Linked DNA regions of Homo sapiens: region 2 is linked to region 1. The links are contacts of gene promoters, found by promoter capture Hi-C in blood cells and fetal thymus (Javierre and others, 2016). All regions are on one chromosome and are shown on one strand. The core of a region is centred on a gene start or on the middle of the fragment in contact, and the rest is flanking DNA. Distances in the headings are between cores, read along the strand shown. Region 1 holds the start of H3C12 (H3 clustered histone 12). Region 2 holds the start of TRA-CGC1-1 (tRNA-Ala (anticodon CGC) 1-1).

Region 1 (4,663 bases), core at 1,697-4,196:
CTGAAGTTTCAATAATTTGAGTCTCTGGAATTAACCAACAGTAGAAAGATAAACAGGAAAAAAAAAAAAGGCATACAAATTTATTACCTGCATATGCACAGGAGCCTCACAAAATACAGTACTCCAAGAAATGATACCGGTGGGCTAGGGGAGGTACCCAAATGCCATTAGGATGTTGATCCCAGCCAGTGTCCAGGCCTTTGCCACTGCTGCCAGAAAGAATCCAAGGACAAGTCAGAAAAAGTACAGAGGTTTATTGCAAAGTGAAAAATACATGCTCAAGGAAGGGAAGTGCAGGCTTACTCAAGAGAGTCAGTCTTGCCCAGGAGTGATTGGGGCTTCTAACTTTATGGGTTTCCTTAACCAAGGGGTGGAATATCCATGAAGATTTCTGGAAAAGGGTGACAATTTCTCAGAACTGTGGTGCCATCCATTTTTCCATGAAATATGGGTGTTCTCGGAACTGTCATGGTGTTGGTGGATGTCTGATTTGTATGTTAATAAGTGTATAATAAGGTCCCAGGTGAAAGCTAGGTCAAATCCAGTGCCATGTTGGGTCAAGTAGGACTTAGCCAGCTTGGCAAACATTTCGGTTTTCAGGGTCTCTTTGGCTCCTAGTTTGTGCAGCTATTTCAACAGTTTCCTTTTTGCTAGTCATGTGAAACTACTGCATGGAATCTTCTATTCTCTTGTGACCACCCTATATTATTTCTCTCTCAGAAGGGCCAAATAATTGACGTTTTTATGCCATTCTGAGACTACAGAAAGAAAAAAGGTCTTGAGACTTCTGGGGGTTTGGAGGAGGTGGTGACACATGTTGTAGGAGGGTGAAGGAGGAAGGGCAAAGGCACCAGGGGAGGAAAGGCAAAGGTTTTCTTGTTATGTAGATAAAGTCTCTCAGGTAATCGCAGAATAGCTGACAGCCTGTGACAAAGTAGTTTTCTCTCCTTTGAGTCAGTCTTAGATTCCTCTTTAGGCAGGAAAGGGAGCCTCAGAGAAAGCCAGTACTTGCATCCACTGTTTACTAATGTAGATTTCCTTGATAGGTATACAATTCTTTTACAAAAAAGAGCTTTTCAGAGCTATTCCTATTTCTGCAGTTTCTCTGAATAGCCATCTTGAAATATGACAAAGTATACTTCGGGGTGGCATATTTTAGTCTCCCACAAGAGCCACTCCAAACTAAGATTCAGAGATAAAATCAGGTTCAATAAATATTTTTTGTGTACCTAATGTGTTTTCTGGGGCACTGTCCAAGGCCCTAGAATATATTACTGCATTTAACCTTTAAAGCAGTCTCTTGAGGAAAGTAAAGTGAAGGAAATAAAAATATTTTACCCCAAAAGATATTTCTTTGCCCTATTTTGAAATGGCTGCCTCAGGGCCCGGAGACCGATGAGGCCCTGCAAATCAGTCTTTTGTGGGGGAAATTTCCATTTGTTGCCAGGCTTTCCCTTTCTAGTCCTTTCCTGGATCTAGGAGAGATTAACTGAGAGTCTGATCCTTTTTTATTTTTATTTTTTAAGAGACTGTCTTGCTCTGTCACCCAGGCTGGAGTGCAATTGTGCAATCATAGTTCACTGCATCCTTGAACTCGTGGGCTCAGGCAATCTTCCTGCCTCAGCCTTCTGAGCAGCTAGAACTACAGTTGTGCGCTGCAACACCCACCTTTCTTTTTATTTGTTTTTCGTAGAGACAGGATTTTGCTGTTACCCAGGCTGATCTCAAACTCCTGGGCTCAGGGAATCCTCCTTCCACTGCCTCCCAAAGTGGAGGGCATGAGCCACCACGCCCACCCTGACAAGAGACATTTACCATCTATTTTTTCTGAGGACTACTAGCTATGTGTTTTCATCTACATAACAAGACCCGCCCCCCTTGCTAGCCAAGTCTCTTCCTTTCTCCCTCCTATAATCTGTTTTCCCAGGTTCCAAGCTTGCACTCTTTCTATAATCTCAAGGTGATATATAAACTTCTGTATCTCATTGGTGGGTGGGTCCTCATTTTGAAGTCTCCCGTGTCTATGTGCTAAATCAACCGGCCTCATGTCCGTGATTTTCAGCAAGCTTCCAGGGGACCCAAGGGCAGTGCCCGTTTCAGTTAAAAATGGCATCTCATTTAACCTGTAATCTAATTGTTAGTTATGGGGTTCTGGAGATGCTATCCCCAAAGGACAGCATGTGCAGGAAGGACTTTGGCTTTCCCCTTGAAGCGGATTGACCTTGGATATAGATTTGCTGACTTTCCTCGGAGAAAGTGAGACCCTTGTGAGATGGGTCACAGAGGACAAGTGAAAAGGACCGTCTTAGAAGACAAAGGACACTGCAAGGAATCAGAATGAACAACCCTTGACGACTTTCCGCCAGTTTATCCCTGCTTTAAAGTTGATTTAAGACAGTCGACCAATGGTGTGACAGCTATCCTCAGTGAGAATGTAAGTGGCTCTGAAAAGAGCCTTTGGAAGCTTGGAAGCAATTAAGAAACCCAAGATAGAGCAGGGGATTATGCTCGCTCGCCACGGATACGACGCGCAAGCTGGATGTCCTTAGGCATAATAGTGACACGCTTGGCGTGAATAGCACAGAGGTTGGTGTCTTCAAAGAGACCCACCAGATAGGCCTCGCACGCCTCTTGCAGCGCCATCACCGCCGAGCTCTGGAAACGAAGGTCGGTTTTGAAATCCTGCGCGATTTCTCGCACCAGGCGCTGAAATGGCAGTTTGCGGATGAGCAGCTCAGTCGACTTCTGATAACGGCGGATCTCACGCAAGGCCACGGTGCCTGGCCTGTAGCGGTGGGGCTTCTTCACACCGCCAGTCGCTGGAGCGCTTTTGCGCGCTGCCTTGGTGGCCAGCTGCTTCCGCGGTGCCTTGCCGCCGGTAGACTTGCGAGCTGTCTGCTTCGTCCGGGCCATAGTTGAGAAAGCTATGCTCTGAAAGCAAGCAGCTGAATGAGCAGTGGCTTCTACCAGAATTTATAACGATGATCTGATCCTGATTGGTCAGAACTGTTGTAGGAAAAACCTGGTTGGTTGTTAATACTATCTTCATTTGGTTCCTGCCACTTTTTTTTTTTTTTTTTTTTTTTTACCTGACGGCTTCTAATTCTGTCGCCTAGGCTGGAGTGTGGTGGCGCGATCTCAGCTCACTGCAACCTCCGCCTCCCGGGTTCAAGCGATTCTGCCTCAGCCTCCGGAGTAGCTGGGACTACAGGCACTTGCCACGACGCCCGGCTAATTTTTTTTTAGCAGAGAAGGGGTTTCACCATGTTGGCCAGGCTGGTCTCAAACTCCTGATCTCAAGTTATCCGCCTGCCTCGGACTTCCAAAGTGCTTAGATTACAGGCGTGAGCCACTGCGCTCGTCCTCCGCGCCACTTTTATTTATTGTTTTCAACCAATCATGTTAAGATTCCCCCAATGAAAAGATAATCTGACCTAGAATTTGTGTAGGTCAGTCGTAGTCTTAAACTCATTTCCAATGGGTCATTTTTCCTATTTCGGATCGTGTAAAAATACATACAGTAGAACAACGTATTTGCTAGTATTTCCAAAAAGTAGTTCCGTTTTGTAACTGCTTAATTAAATCTTTTAATGACTGTACCAAGACCCAGAACAAAAACAATTTAAACTTAGGCTGGCACATTCTCTAAAACACCAAAACTTTAGTTTTGTCCAGTGTGGTGTGGGGAAGGAGTTTGATAGGTGCTTGACTAAATGATACCAATAAATGGTATCTGACCTCTTCATTAACTGAGTTTAATGCAATCCAATGGCTGATTGGATTAATTATGTAAATTATTGCTTAATTTCATTAGCATGCGCGGAATTACAGGTTTGGGTCAGTGATTAGATTTTTGCCAGTGAATCTGGGTAGTTCTGACAACAGCATTTTATTAGGATGGAGATTTTAGTTGATCAAAGAACTACCAGGTTCTGGTATTGATAAAGACCCATAAAGACAACAAAAAGGTTAGTTTAACATTTATTATATTCACAGGAGCAAATGATCACCAGAAATACTTTTGTTTGGGTTTTGTTTTTCTTTTTTTGAGACGGGGTCTCGCTTTGTCACCCAGGCTGGAGTGCAGTGGCGAGGTCATGGCTCACTGAAATCTCAAATTCCTGGGACTCAAGTGTTCCTTCTGCTGTCAGTCCGCCAAATACAGGCGAGGGCCTCGCGCCTGGTATTTTTTTTCTTTCTTTTTTTTAGATGGAGTCTCGCTCTGTCGCCCAGGCTGGAGTGCAGTGGCGTGATCTCGGCTCACTGCAACCTCTGCCTCCTGGGTTCAAGCGATTCTCCTGCCTGTCTCCTTAGTAGCGCTCGCCACCACGCCCGGCTAATTTTTGTGTTTTTAGTAGGGACAGGGTTTCACCATGTTTGCCTGGGTGGTCTCGATCTCTTGACCTTGTGATACACCCTCCTCGGCCTCCCAAAGTGCTGGGATTACAGGCGTGAGCCACCGCGCCCAGTCATTTTTTTTTTAAGAGGCAGGGGTCTCGTTATCAGGGTGGTCTCGAACTCCAGGTCCCTAGAGATTTCTCCCCTCCCCACCCACCTGCCTCAGTTTCCCAAAATGCTAAGGACGCATAAACCACCGCGCCCGGCCCCAAGTTTTTTAAAGACCCAGGACAGTTTGTGGGGAGGGGACAATTAAGGAGGTTCC
Region 2 (4,663 bases), core at 871-3,370, 1.3 Mb before region 1:
TTATATTTTGTAAGAATCGATATTATTATCTTTAAAGCAAAATTTGGAATGCCTTTGTTCTCCAGATATGGGGACATCTAGACACTCCCAAGTCTGGGTCTGTTTAGTAAACATTATTAATTTGTTCCCTTAACCATAAACATCTAGAGGCTAGGAATGCCTGACTTTCTGGGAATGCAGCCCAGCAAAAGTCCCGGCCTCGTTTTCCTAGCCCTCACTCAAAATGGAGTCGCTCTGGTTCGAATGCCTCTCACAGAAATCCCGCTAAAATGTACCTCCCTCGGTTGCGGTGAGCCGTGATCGTGCCACTGCACTCCAGCCTGGGAGATAGAGTGAGAACTCCGTCTCAAAAAAAAAAAAAAAAAATACCTCCTTCTTCTCTCAAAACTCTCCAATGGCTTCCACCCTGGGTCATCAACATGGCCTGGAAGAGCCGTACTCTGGATACCCGAGGGCGCGGCCCCAGCGCCGCGACGCCCCGCCCCTCTGGCTGCTCCGCTCTGGGATGCACTTCCGACGCCCTCTAGGCTTGGGAGTTCCGCGCCTCTCGGTGTCGCCTGGGGGGCGTGCTCCGGTTGGCGCACTGATTCCCAGTTGGGTAGGGGAGGCTTGACTGAGCTCCCACCCGGAATTTCACCTTAGACCTTTAAAGACCTTGCTCCGGCCTCCCGCGCCAGCGCTAACACCTAGTCCTCTTTAGTGGAGTTCCGGCGGAAGGGGATGGCGGGCACCCGACGGTGGTCTCCTCCCAGATGGCGAATTTCCGCGGCTTCTTCATCTTTTAGCTCCCAGGGAGCCCTCTGGCCCCAGCATGAAGCCCATGGAGCCCTTTTCAAAATTGTATTTTTAAAAGCTTTTAAAAAATACACAGGATTTTAAAGAAAGCCAATTGTACTACAAAACAGTTTTCAAACGATTAAAATAATTTCATAGAGTAATGTGTGCTTCTCATTAATGCATTAAATATTAAACATCAAGACCCGTCTTATGACTGCTGTAATTTTCAAACAGTTGTCTTGGGTATTTGTAACAACTGTATTGTGATACAAAAATATGTGATTTTTCTTTTCTTTTTTTTTAGACAGAGTCTCCCTCTGTCGCCTAGGCTGGAGTGCAGTGGCGTGGTCTCTGCTCACTGCAAGCTCCGCCTCCCGGGTTCACGCCATTCTCCTGCCTCAGCCTCCCGAGTAGCTGGGACTACAGGTGCCCGCCACCAATTTTGTTTTTGTATTTTTAGTAGAGACGGGGTTTCACCGTATTAGCCAGGATGGTCTTGATCTCCTGACCTGGTGATCCGCCCGCCTCGGCCTCCCAAAGTGCTGGAATTACAGGCATGAGCCACCACCCCCGGCCAAAAATATGTGATTTTTCTTGATGACAGAGTCGTAGTTACTTCTCTTTCAATTGTGGTTTGTTACCTGTATTAGTAAGTGAAAGATATGTTAAATTTCAGTTAGAATAGACTAGAATCAGAAATAATCAGAATGCAGTGTGTGTGTTAAGAGTAAGGAATAGTTCATGCAACTTTTGTTTCTGTTACATATGTATGACTGAATTACGATGTAAACTAAACTAAATTGTAGGTCACCACCAAAAAAATGAAAGCTACTGCCACTAGGCCCAAGTTCTGGGTGAAGAACCACGTCTGTTTACCTGGGCAACCCCATGGATCAGGAAAGCAGGGGATCAGAAAGGAGCACGCTAATAGAGAAAAGAGGGAGCCTGTGCATTTTTGTTGCTTTTCAAGAAAGAGTTTAACCTTTAACAACTTGTAGCCATTGTTATTGCAACTTTTACTCCTATTGCAGATGAAAAGCTTTGTGCGCTGTGGCTCCCTTTCCAAAAGGCCCATCTATTTTCTAAACAGCTCCTAGGTTATGAGACCTATGGTCAGCTCAAGAGTCCTTCATTTATTCGGGGATATCAGCCCGTGACTTGACCTTAACCTTCCTCTCTCTAACTGCAGTAACCTCTCCCGCCTTGTCCATAGTTTCCCTTCCGCTGTCTCAGTTACCCCCTTCAACCGTGGTCCAAAAATATTAAATGAAAATTCCAGAAATAAAAAATTCATAAGTTTCAAATAACTCCCCTTTCTCAGTAGCGTCATGAAATCTCCCACCCGCCCGAGGATCATCCCTTTGTCCAGACTATCCACGCGGTATGCGCTCCCCACATCTTAGTCACTTAGTATTCATCCTGGTTATCAGATCGAAAAAACATAGTATACTATGGTACTATCCGAGGTTTCAGGCATTCACTGTGTGTCTTGGAACATATCTCCTGCTGATAAGGAAAGAATACTGTACGTATTGGGTTAAAAATGAAGAAATGGAAATAAAAAAGGAGAAATACAGCGACACCTGAACAGGGACTTGAAACCTGGTTCCTCAGATTAAAAGTCCATGGCCATACTGACTGAGCTACCAAGCTTCATACAAAATGTCCAAACTGCATCAACCCTGGTTTATTAATCTATGTATCTGACCTAGAAGGTGATTTTAGAAGGTTCAGCTGCGATTTTAATAAGGACCTGGTAATTTAGAAATTCTTGCTAATAACAGCACAGAAGCTCAGCCATAACGAGGGTCCGTTTTAAGACCGAGGTCTAACCATATTACAAATCCATACTAACATCCCCCCAAAATTCTATCTATCTATCTATCTATCTATCTATCTATCTATCTATCATCTATCTATCTATCTACCCACCTACCCATCTACCTATCTTTCTACACGCATATATATGTATTCATATAATCCAGTCCAGTCAAGGACTAACAGAATGCTCGCCTTCAGTTCCTAGGCTTCCCAGATAAATATCTCAAATCCTCTCTCTAAACTTGGGCCCAAACAAAACATTTTCAAAAGTAACCTGATCTGACGCTGGTGCACATAAAGGGGAGTAATTGAATCACCTTTTCGGCGACGGACTTAGGGAAGCTGTTGTGAGACGAAAGATAGAGAAAACTGATTTAGCAGTTCTTGGTTTCACCTGCCTTGGTTTTCCTTAAAAAAGGAAAAATAAATTAAAGAAGTTTGTGAAGAAGCGTCCTCACTCTCCTTTTTCTTGTCAGATTTCCAGGTAGTTGTCAATAGTTCTATCCCTGGGTCAGTAGGTTAAGTATTTGACAAGCATGTCTGATGGCTGGAAGGTTTTCCACACTTTGAAAACTGATGGATGCTGCCCCATTAACCATTTCAGGATTTTGTTCGACAAATAAAAGAGAATTTAGTTTCAGCAGTCCGCAAATCTTAGAATTTTGGGGACAGAGATGGGGACGGGGACAGATATGGGAGGACGGAGACGGCGGGGCGGTGGGGTGGTAGCAGAAATCTTTCACAAACAACTAGGGAGAGCTACAAAGAACGGTTTCTTAGGGTAGGGGATGTAGCTCAGTGGTAGAGCGCATGCTTCGCATGTATGAGGTCCCGGGTTCGATCCCCGGCATCTCCAAGTTGTTTTATCCTATCTGCCCAATACTATTAGAAACTATATTTCAAAATGTGAAATAATTGTGTTTTGTATCCTCCACTTCTTTAACTTTTTATGGCTTTCTTTTAGCCACTGTATGTAGAATTGTATATGGAGCACGGGGAACAAGATTGCTTTGAAGTATTTTGAACTATCTATGTGAAACAAATGGAATTGAGAACACAGAAAAACATGCCCAATGGGGAGATGACAGAAGAGGAGCAACCTGGAAAGTTGCCCGGAACCCATTAATGAGCCCTATTTGTGGTATATGGTTTGCCTTTAGGGCAGAAATAATCTTGGCTTGAGAACATGGAAAGGGGAGGGAAGACGGGCTATTGTTAGTCCTGTGAGTCATAGGATGATAAAAATAGGACAAATATCGAAAGAAGGATGAATCTCAGCTCAGCACGGGCGAATTTGGCTGCTCTAGTGCACCGGTCTCCCGTAGGGGAATAACAAAAATGAAAACATTCCGAAACACTGATGAAATTCTTGATGCAGTTTTTAAAACTTCTTGGAGACAGGTGGCCGGTTAGCTCAGTTGGTTAGAGCGTGGTGCTAATAACGCCAAGGTCGCGGGTTCGATCCCCGTACGGGCCAACTTTGTTTTCTTCCATCACGTAACTTACGGCCAAAGACAAGGAAAAATCAATTGTCTGAGGACTGTTACTACAAGAAAGACTGTGCTAACCTTTATAACTAACACTTTGCCAGAAGTCCAAACCTTTGTAGCAAGTCCAGAGGTCCTGTTTTCTTAAGTCATGGTGCTCAAAATGTTTGCTCATGAGAAGCAGAAAAGCAGTAGGATAGTTTAGGAGTTAGATTTAAATTCAATAGAGGGCAAAACAGTGCCACCAATTTGTTTAGTGCCCCAACACTGTCCTTGAAATAGTCTGAAAACAGATAAATCTTCAGATAATGAAATGTGGGGCAAGTGTGAGAAGGCAGTGTTCATTATCTCTGATTGCCCAATTAAGGATCCCTACTTGGGAAGATCAACACTCACACATCAAGACAGAAATTCCATTCCGAGAGAAACATTTTCTTGTTACTTTGATTTCCCAAGAAAGGACTATGCCCCTTTCCAAAATCTACCTTTTTCACATCAGCAACCTGGACCTGTTGGTCCAGGTTGGCCAACGCCGGGAATAACTGCTCAGTCCACATCTTGATGTTAAATATCCCCTG

The links. Contacts are between HindIII fragments. The CHiCAGO score rates a contact against its expected background, and 5 or more counts as called.
Region 2: a contact is called between a fragment that was not itself captured here and the fragment with the promoter of H3C12 in region 1, in 1 of 17 cell types (fetal thymus). The highest score is 7.4, in fetal thymus.

What each region holds. Positions count from the first base shown.
Region 1 is chr6:27,887,880-27,892,542 of GRCh38, forward strand. H3C12 (H3 clustered histone 12) reads right to left here and starts at 2,947. Exons shown (of 1, transcript NM_003535.3): 1 at 2,436-2,947. The coding sequence starts at 2,913. The coding sequence ends at 2,503. RefSeq lists enhancers at 1,249-1,893, 1,894-2,538, 2,180-2,479, 2,539-3,183, 2,700-2,919 and 2 more. The HindIII fragment of the contact is 2,915 bases long and covers 2,463-4,663 here.
Region 2 is chr6:26,550,121-26,554,783 of GRCh38, forward strand. TRA-CGC1-1 (tRNA-Ala (anticodon CGC) 1-1) reads left to right here and starts at 3,383; the gene lies at 3,383-3,454. TRI-AAT5-1 (tRNA-Ile (anticodon AAT) 5-1) reads left to right here and starts at 4,002; the gene lies at 4,002-4,075. RefSeq lists enhancers at 230-764, 749-798, a cis regulatory region at 3,066-4,276 and silencers at 3,339-3,388, 3,979-4,068. The HindIII fragment of the contact is 612 bases long and covers 1,815-2,426 here.